2 separate regions of the Homo sapiens genome follow, and region 2 is linked to region 1. Evidence: promoter capture Hi-C in human tissues and cell types (Jung and others, 2019). All regions are on one chromosome and are shown on one strand. Each heading gives the region's core, a stretch centred on a gene start or on the middle of the fragment in contact. The rest is flanking DNA. Distances are from core to core; before and after follow the strand shown.

Region 1 (4,496 bases), core at 974-3,473:
TCTGGGTGCCCTAAGGAGCCTTCCCAGCTTTGGTCTTAGTTATTGCTGGCCAGGCCTGGGGTGAGGTGTGGGTGTGAGATCTTGGCCCCTGAATCTTCAAGGTCATATCCGGGGCCTGCCCTGAGAAATTGCACAACCTGTCAGCTGAAGGAAACCACAGCCCTGGTTTTGTTTTCTCATCTCTGAAACAGGGAAGCTCTCCTGCAGGCAGTGCCCAGGCCCAGGGTAGACAAAGGGTTTTCATGCCACAGACGGGGCAGCTGCTGGAGCTCCCTACACAGCGGGACACGCGAAGGGCACCTGCTGTGTGACCTGGGGCCCACGACAGTCACTGGTTGCCTCTGCAGAAGCAGTTGACTGCCTCCACTCTAGAAGATTCTACTGAGGCCTGGCTCAGTGCCTGGCTTGTGGGTGCGCCATCTAGATCAAGCATTATTATGCTAATGATCATATGCAAAAACTCAGCTCACGCATTATTATGTTAATGATCTTATCCGCCCCCTCTCCCCCCGCCAAAGAAAAAGAACTGGGCAGCTCAAGGCCGCTTCTGTGGGTGTGGCTGGTGGTCACTTTGAAACAGTTGGGTTTGCAAAATAACCCCGGGAGAAGTTACAGAGCTTAAGAAATCCCCCAAGTTCTCATGATCCTTGCTTCCCTTTCCAGTCACCCTTGGTGCCCTGTACTTCACTGTGGTCCTGAACTGAAGAGCTGTGTTTTTCAGGAAGACTTGGCCAGGCCGTGTTCCGTGTCTCTGGATTCAAGTCCCAGGAGTCCTGACCAGAGAGCAGGTATGCGGGTGTGGGGAAGGGCTGCAGAGGACTCAGGTCCACACCGACCCTGGGCCAGGTGATCACACAGAAAGTATAGACAGGGACTGAACCTCAGAAAACAATGGCTGGGCCAGGTGCAGTGGCTTACGCCTATAATCCTAGTACTTTGGGAGGCCGAGGCGGGTGAAGTTTGAGACCCAGCCTGGGCAAAATGGTAAAACCTCATCTCTACACACACACACACACACACACACAAATATATATATATATGAATGAAGTAGTCGAGTGTGGCGGGACCTACTTGTAGTCCCAACTACTAGGGAAGCTGAAGTGGAAGGATCGCTTGCACCTGAGAGGTCAAGGCTGCAGTGAGCCGTGAGCCCGCCACTGGACTCCGGCCTGGGGGACGAATGAGACACTATCTCAGAAAAACAAAACAATGTCTGGCACCTGGGGGACCAGCAGGTTAGAGCAGCTGGTCGTGCATTGCCAGTTTACCTGACAGTGACTCGAGAGCTGAGAACTGGGTATAGGGCACATTATTGGGATATTTGAGGCCTGAAGGCGCTGATGAGCAGCCACCAGTTCAGCAAGTGCGGGCTGGGTGGGACCCGCAGTTCCAACAAACACTACAAAGTCCGCTCCTGTGGCTTTGGCCTCCTCCCCCAACTCCCCGAGTCCTCCAGCCTGTGGGGTGCGCAAAACACGGCTCCCTGGTCCCCCTAGAGGTGCCCCAGGCCACCGGGTCCTCCCTCCACTGCCAGCCTTGGGATCCCAAGCGTAGACCTCTGAGGACGTTCGTGGGCGTGCAAGGCGCACCTGGCCGCTAGAGGTGGGCGTGAGGCCGATCGCGGTTCCCCCAGGCGCAGGGCCGCCCTCCCAGCCCCGACGGACAGCCCCGAGGGAGCGCAGCGCTGCCGCAGCTGCTCTAAGTTTCGGTTCCCAAATCCGGCTCGGCCCACACCGTGTCACAGCCCGGTAATTAGGGAAGCGGCGGCGGGCGGGGCCAGCTCTCGCGGGGCACCTGCACTCCCCTGAGCCGGCCCACGTGGTCCGGGAGGTCCCGCCCGCGGTGGCGGTGAGTTGGGGGCGGGACGCCGGGCTGGGATCACAATGTCGGGGGCGCCTAGGCGTAGACGTGGCGGGCGGACCCGGGGGCGCCCTCCGGACGCGGCAGGTGAGTGGGGACGGGAGCCGGGGGCCGCCCTCCTCGGGGCGCCGACCCCCGCCTACCCGAGTCGCGGACGCCCGCCCCTGTCCCCGCTGCCCGCCTCCACTCCCTGGTCACTGCTCTCCACCGCGATTCGCCCCTCTTCCCCACCGCCCGCCTCTTTCCCGCCACGCCCGCCGCCTCCCGCCCGCGCGGGGTGTCCCGGCGCCGGTGGGACCCGGCAGACGCGCGGGACGCCCCACGTGCGCGGCAGCGCGCATGCGTGGCGGGTGCGCCTGCGCAGTGGGCGGGCGCGGCGCATTGCTGCTCGGCGGCGCCGGCGCCGGGGTCCGGGCGGCCATGGGGCAACAGGCGGCCAGGGCGCCAAGGGCCAGGTAGCGACGGCTGGCGGCGGCGCGGCGGCGGGGCCTGCGGGCTCGGTCCGGCATGTAGACGCCCCCGCAGGCGCCCGCGGCAGCGAACGGTGAGTGAGCAGACCCGGCCTGCCGTCCGCCTGGGGTCGCCCGCTGCCTGGGGTCATCGCTGCCCGCGAGCGCGCGGCCAGGCGGGGAGACACCAGGCCGGCCCTGCCCATCTGGCCTGCTGAGGAGGCCGTGGAAGTGCTGACGGGCCACCGCTCCGTCCCGAATGGGGCACCAGCACGGCCCAGGGCGAGGCTCGGCCTTGGGGACGGGTCTGAGGGAGGCCGCTGTCCGGCCTGGCTCTCCCGGGCGGGGAAGGTGGGGCCGTCCAGCCCGGACCGCGCTTGTCAGTCGCCTCTGCTTGGGCGGCCAGGTCCTCGGTGTCCGGCCTTCCGTGGGTGGTTTCAGCAAGCAGGAGGGGTCTTTGACTCGTGAAAGCTTAGAGGGGCCCAAACCTAGTGGGAAAGTATGAATAAAAGATTCTATACAGCAGTATTGGCATGGAATTCTCTAAAAACACATCTCTGATTTAGTGCCCAGTACTTGCCAGAAAATTCCAATAGTCTATGGTGATGTTCCTACAGGCGGCTGCCATCCAGTAGGTCAGATGTCAGCACCGGCCTTGAGCTCTAGGTCGTCGTTTTTTTTCTTAATTGTGGGAACAGGGCGTGCCCAGCTCCGAAGGCCTGGTGGAGTTTTCCTTCCCAGGCCAAGGACCACCCCCACCCTCCCATCCCTCCTCCCCAAGCAATGAGATTCCTTTTGGCTTCGATTCCGAGTAACAAGTTATTTTTCCTTTCTTGTTTTGGAACACACTAAGTTTTACATTCAAAAGTTCATTATTCTTGGCTCTTGATGGGAATACATTTCAAAACTCTTCTCTTCTTGTGTTCCATGTCTCTCTGACAGCCTTAGTTGGCCTGAAACTGACATGTTTGCCTTAATAAGTTTTTTTTTCCTCCTGATGTCATCTTGTCTAAGAAGCTAGTTACTTTAACACCTTGTTAGATAATTCCCTTCAAGTACTTATTCCCCTGAACATTGTCCTCTCAAGCCTCTGGAAATTTCCTGTCCCCTTGGAACTTCTCTGTAAGGCCTGTTTGCTCTCAGCAGTGACTTCACTGGGACTTTTGCAGCCACTTTATGGTGTTAGCACGCTGATTCCAAGCTACTTGAGGAATCACAGGTGCCACCGCAGTACCCAACAAAATAGCTTCATCATTTGGAGGTGTCCTCTCGAGATGTTTCTGTGTGTATATGTGTGTGTATGTTAGAAACAGGGCCTCACTCTGTCCTCCAGGCGTGTTTATGGTGGCATGATTATAGCTCACTGTAACCTCAAATTCCTGGGCTCAATTGATCCTCCCACCTCAGCCTCCTGAGTAGCTGGGATTACAGGCCTGCACCACCACACCTAGCTGATTTATAAAATTTTTTGTAGAGATAGAGTCTCACTGTGTTGTCCAGGCTAGTCTCAACCTCCTGGCCTCAAGAGATCCTCCTGCCTCCACTTCCCAAAGTGCTGATCTTACAGACGTAAGCCACTTTGACCAGTCTTTTTTTTTTTTTTTTTTTTTTAAGACAGAGTCTAGCTCTGTTGCCCAGGCTGGAGTGCAGTGGCACAATCTCGGCTCACTGCAACCTCCACCTCCCGGGTTCAAGTGATTTTCCTGCCTCAGCCTCCTGAGTAGCTGGGATTACAGGCGCCCACCACCACGCTCAGCTAATTTTTGTATTTTTAGTAGAGACGGGTTTCACTGTGTTGGCCAGGCTTGTCTCGAACTCCTGACCTCGTGATCAGCCCACCTTGGCCTCCCAAAGTGCTGGGATTACAGGTGTGAGCCACCACAGCTTGCCTCACTTGGACCAGTCTTTTTGTTTGTTTGTTTCATTTGAACTTGGAGGTGGGTTTATGTTGTTTCAGTTGGCAGCCTGCTGTTTGGTTCCAAAACAGCATTTTCTTCTTGAAACAACTGCTGTCAGCAGTTAGATTTCCAGGCTAGCACAAAAACCTGTTTGACTCATAAATCCTTGTAGTGAGGGTGTCCCAGAAAGTTGGCCAAGTCAAGAGCAGTTCTTGTGGAGTGGAGGCGGTGAACAAATAGGGGGAAAGTGGCGCTCGTGATGAAAACGGAAAACAATAGTTGATTTTAT
Region 2 (4,496 bases), core at 862-3,361, 530 kb before region 1:
TGGGGCCCGGCGCGCTCCGCCTGACTCGGGGCCCCCAGTGCCCCCGGACTGGGAACGGAACGGGCGTCGGGGAGGCCGCCCCGGCCCTGAGGACGCGGCGCGGGGCCCGGGACGTGCACCCCTCCCCACCCCCCCAGCGCGGCTTCCGGCCCGGGCGAAGGAGCGGGATTGGGAAGGTTTCGGAGCCGGCGCTGGAATTCCTGGGTAGTTCCTCCGCCACCGCCCTTCCCCCGCGAGGCCGGCCTCCGACGGGGCCTCTCCAGGGTGAGGGGCAGGCCCTGGCCTGGAGCCAGAAACAGGATTTCCCCGGATGCCAGGACAGCGCCAGGGCCGGGGACAGGCCGGGGCCCCACTGCGGGTTTTCTGTCCTGCGCAGCAGTGACCCCGCAGACTTCGCGCACGGGGCGCAGGATGGGGTAGGGGGCCCAGAGCCTTGGTCTGTCGGACCCTCAGCGGCCAGCGCAGGTCGGTGGTCATTTCGGAGTTCCGGCCACTGTCCTGTGCAGGAGTGACCCTGGAGGCCGCCTTGGTTTGGCCTGGGAGGATTCTAAACACGGAGGGGCCAACACCGAGACCCGAGAGACCCCGGCCTAAACCTGACCCAGTGCCGGCCACACCAGCCACGGCCCTCCTGGCATCCCTGGGATCACAGAATGGGACAGCCTCCCCACCCACAATCCCCCCAGGCCCTGGCGAGGGCAGCTCCTCCGACGCTACAGCCTTTTTCCTAGGACTGTTTTTCCTTAGAAACAGGAAGCTGGGGCATGGGCATCACGTCCCTCGGGTGCAGGCCCCACCAGGGGCAGGGCAGAGTGGGGCTGGACCACAGGGCACACAGTACCTTGCCCAGCTCCTGCCCCAGGGTGGGCACAGCAGGGCGCAGGGCGGTGTCCATCTGCAACTGGTAGCCTGGCCTAACCTGGGCATAGCACCGACCAGGGTCATTTCACCCAGCTGGGGGCATCTCCATGAGGGAGGACACGCAGAGCTCCATCGTCTGTCCCTGGTTCCTGCTTGCCCTCCACCAAGACCCCAGCCTGGCCAGGCCCACCTTGCAGGAAGGGCCAGAAGGTTCCGACAGCAGAGAGGGGGACAGGGCTGTCAGGGAGAATCTGGCAGGGCCAGGCCAGGGGGGCAGCAGCTGGCACTGGCCAGGGTACACGGGACCCTCCAGGGTTCGGGGCTGGTGGCCTGCCCGGCCCCCACCAAGGCCTCTAGACGGCCCTCGACCCTCCACACCCCTGGTCTCTCGTTCTAGATCTGGATGGCACCCAATCCTGGTTTCTGGGCTGAGCTGGGCAGCCAGGAGCCCACCCTTCCAAGCCAGCCAGTTGTATCTCCACGGGGCCTGGGCACTTGGCACCCCTATACCTAAGAGTGTCCTTGGGACAGCTGCGGGGAGGGGCAGGAGACTGGGAGACACTGCTGCCTGGGCTGACCCAGGGAGCCCCTGCCTCCAGCCCCTACCTCCCCACCTCCCCACGGTTCCCTGTCCCTGGAAGTTTCTGGAACAGGCCTCCTTTGCAGGAGGAGCCATGGAGGCCGAGCCTGGGCTGCACTTCTTGCCAGTAAGAGCTGCCAGGCCCGGCCATGGGAGAGAAAGGTCCGTTCCCAGCCCGGCTGGACACCTGGCCCAGCACAGGACACTGCAAAGACAAGCCAGGCTGGCCAGGCTGCCCCTGCCGGTCCTCACCCGCAGCGGGGCCACCTGCTCCAGGGCTGGGTGCCCCAGCCATTGAGGCCCCCACCCACCTGGCACAGGCCAGGCACAGATGGCCATGTGCGTCACTGAGACCGGGGGGTGGCAGGGCTGGGCGGGCATCCAGTCCCCAAATGTTCTGTCCTCACCCCCTCCCCAGGGTCCGCTGTGGGTGGAGTAGACAGGGCAGTTTCTGTGGGGAGGGTCGGGACCCCCCCGGGGCCAACACATCAGGGTCACGACCCCATCATTTCTGGAGGGCAGGCGGCCCTGGCCTGGGGGTGTCCCTGTGGGCTCCGCACCTCCTTCCAGCGGAGGCTCCGTGGGGTCAGAGGCCGGGTCGCCTGGAGCAGGACCAGCAGCTGTGCAGAGGCTACGAGAACAGAGTGGGTGGGGGCTGCCTCTTCCTGGCCAGAAGGAAGTGGGGGAGTCAAAGCAGGTGCTGGGACGTGGGGGTGGCCAGGCCTGGGCCAGGATGGGGTCGGGGTCTGGGCCTGTGGGCTGGGGCAATGGGTAGAGCCCCTCATGCAGCCATGAGGGGGTGTCCAGCTTGGGGGCCCCTGGCCATGCCCTTGGAGCACTGCGCTGGGGCAGGAGGGCGGGTTGGGGGTGAAGTGAGGGAGGAGCCGGGTCCCTGCTTAGGCTTAGGGCTGGGGCCGGACACGCGGGGCTGAACCAGTGGCTGCAGTAACTGGTCAGCAGTCTCCACTCCCCACCTAGGACGTGCTGGCCGCTGCCTCCCCAGACAAGGTCAGGCTGCTCAGCCGTTGTCGGCCCCCTTGACCACAGGCTGGTGGGTGAAGGCTGGCAGGACTGTGGCTCCAGGAGGAGGGGGAGACCAGCACAGCTGAGACCTAAGGACAGCTGTTGGTGACTGAGGCAGAAATGGGTGGGGCACAGGGTGGGGCAGAAACTAGGGAGGTGGGGGAGCCCCCATCCCCTTCCCTGAGCTCATCTTCCCCAGACCCCAGCTCTTGGGGGCTTGGGAACAGGCACTGCCAGGAACAGGGGTACTGGGAGCTGCCCTTCCAGGGAGCTGAGGCTGGAGGGCTAACCCGTGGTCCCTGCAGAGGCCCAGGCAGGTGTGAATGCTGGGAGTCCTGAGCCTGAGGATGCAGAGGTAGGGTGGGGAGGGCCATCTCTCTCCCCCCACCTCTGCCCTCCCCTGGCATGGAGGCAGGGAGCTTCTCCCACCCAGGCCTCCTCTCCCCCAGCACTCAGGAGACCCCTGGATCCCTTCGGAACAGCTTTGGGAAGAGGGTTCTGACCCTGGGTGACGGCTGGCCTAGCTCAGCAGGTGGCCAGAGCCCTTTAAAGCTCTAAGTTTATACCCAAAGGTAAACACCAAAGAGAAGCCTGGGGCAGCTTGGGGAACAACTGAGCCCAGAGCACCGCCCCTCCCTGCCCCCACGTGGCTGCTGGAGGCAGTGCCTTTGAGTCTCCGGGAGGGTCGGGAGGGCCGTCATCAAGCCCTGCGGTGCTCAGCTCCGAGGCAGAGTGCCCATGTGGCCACAGGGACGGTCCTCGAGGCCCACCCAGGACCTCGGCCCAGCCCTTCCCCAACTCCTCCCCACTGCACTGGACCCCGGGCTGGTCCTCTGTGCTCACAACTGACTCAGTCTCAGGGTCCTGCCAGCGGCACTCTGGAGCCGCCCATCCTCTGCCCCCCAGAACATGCACGTGCCCAGGACCAGTCCACACCCACTCCTGCTGTGGCCCATGTTCCCCTCGGCCCACGCCCCTGCCCACTGCCCCCAACACCCAGGGGCCTAGCCTGGATGGAGAAGCCAGGCCCATGTGGAGTGGGTGTTTTGAGGCCTGCTGGGGTAGGCCTGTGTGGTCTAGAGGCCGCCCTGTACCCTCCGTGGGGGCTCTATGAGCCCTTTGGGGCCCTGGGCAGGGAAGAAGGAAGCCCCTATGTGGCAGTGAGGGGAGGGCCAGGTCTGCTCTAGCCCCAAGCTTGGGGGCACTTCCCGAGGGGTGGAGAGAAGAGATGGGGACCTGGAAATTGTGCCGGGAGGCTGGGGGGAGGGGCCGGCTGGAGCCCCTACCAGCCCATGCCTTTCTCGGACCACAACCCAGATGACCTATGAGGGCCTGGATGGGCTGGAGATGCTGGATGTGATGGCCTAAGGAAGCCTAGAGAGGTGGTGGCCTGGCACCCCAGGGAGCCCACCCGGGGCTGTGCCTCCATGAAATTGGCATGCGGCATGGCACCTCCAATCCCCAGAACAGGGGTCTGGGAAGGCCCCCCTGTGAGGTCAGGTGGGGAGAAGGGACCTCTGTGTCTCCCTCGGGGCAGCTCGCTGGGGTCCAGGGTTCTGATGCCACCTCCCCTCTCCCCCGCAAGTAACCCAGGAGCTCCTCAGGGAGCTGGCGATCCACCCCTTGGGGACAGGTCTGTCCGTGCGGGAGCTGGACCTTGGCCAACCGCAGGTGCGGCCTCAGAGGCCCCCGTGGAGGCCCAGCCGGGAAGGCCCCATCCCATCTTCTGTCCTGGCACTGCACTCTGTGGGGCTTCCTCCCAGCCGGCCCAAGGCCACGGTGGCCTCAAGCCAGGGCTCCAGCCACATCCAGTGCTACAAGCAGGGACTGCAAGCTCCCTGAATCGCAGAGGAAACCGTGGCCTTGCCCAGCTCAGAGGGGACGGGGACTAGGTGAGAGGGCAGTTGTGCCAGGGCGGCCGCCTGGACCCCACGTGCCCTCGGGGTCGACGGAGACTCCGAGGCCCACAATCTGACCTGTGACAGCACCCCCACCCACGATGGCCTGAAAGCGAGGGGGTCCCAGCCGCCCG

What was found. The method cuts DNA at HindIII sites, captures the fragments that hold promoters and counts their contacts. A contact is called where the count stands out against the background at its distance.
Region 2: a fragment that was not itself captured here is called in contact with the fragment with the promoter of NADK in region 1 in 1 of the 25 tissues and cell types used here (dorsolateral prefrontal cortex).

Annotation. Positions count from the first base shown.
Region 1 is chr1:1,776,197-1,780,692 of GRCh38, reverse strand. It overlaps NADK (NAD kinase), which reads left to right and starts at 2,223. Exons shown (of 12, transcript NM_023018.5): 1 at 2,223-2,404. RefSeq lists enhancers at 18-117, 128-197, 208-267, 278-447 and a silencer at 1,508-2,707. The HindIII fragment of the contact is 25,831 bases long and covers 1-4,496 here.
Region 2 is chr1:2,310,269-2,314,764 of GRCh38, reverse strand. No RefSeq gene overlaps it. Among named protein-coding and RNA genes, the nearest start is that of MORN1, 79 kb to the left of the region's middle. RefSeq lists a silencer at 19-138 and an enhancer at 938-1,591. The HindIII fragment of the contact is 5,543 bases long and covers 1-4,496 here.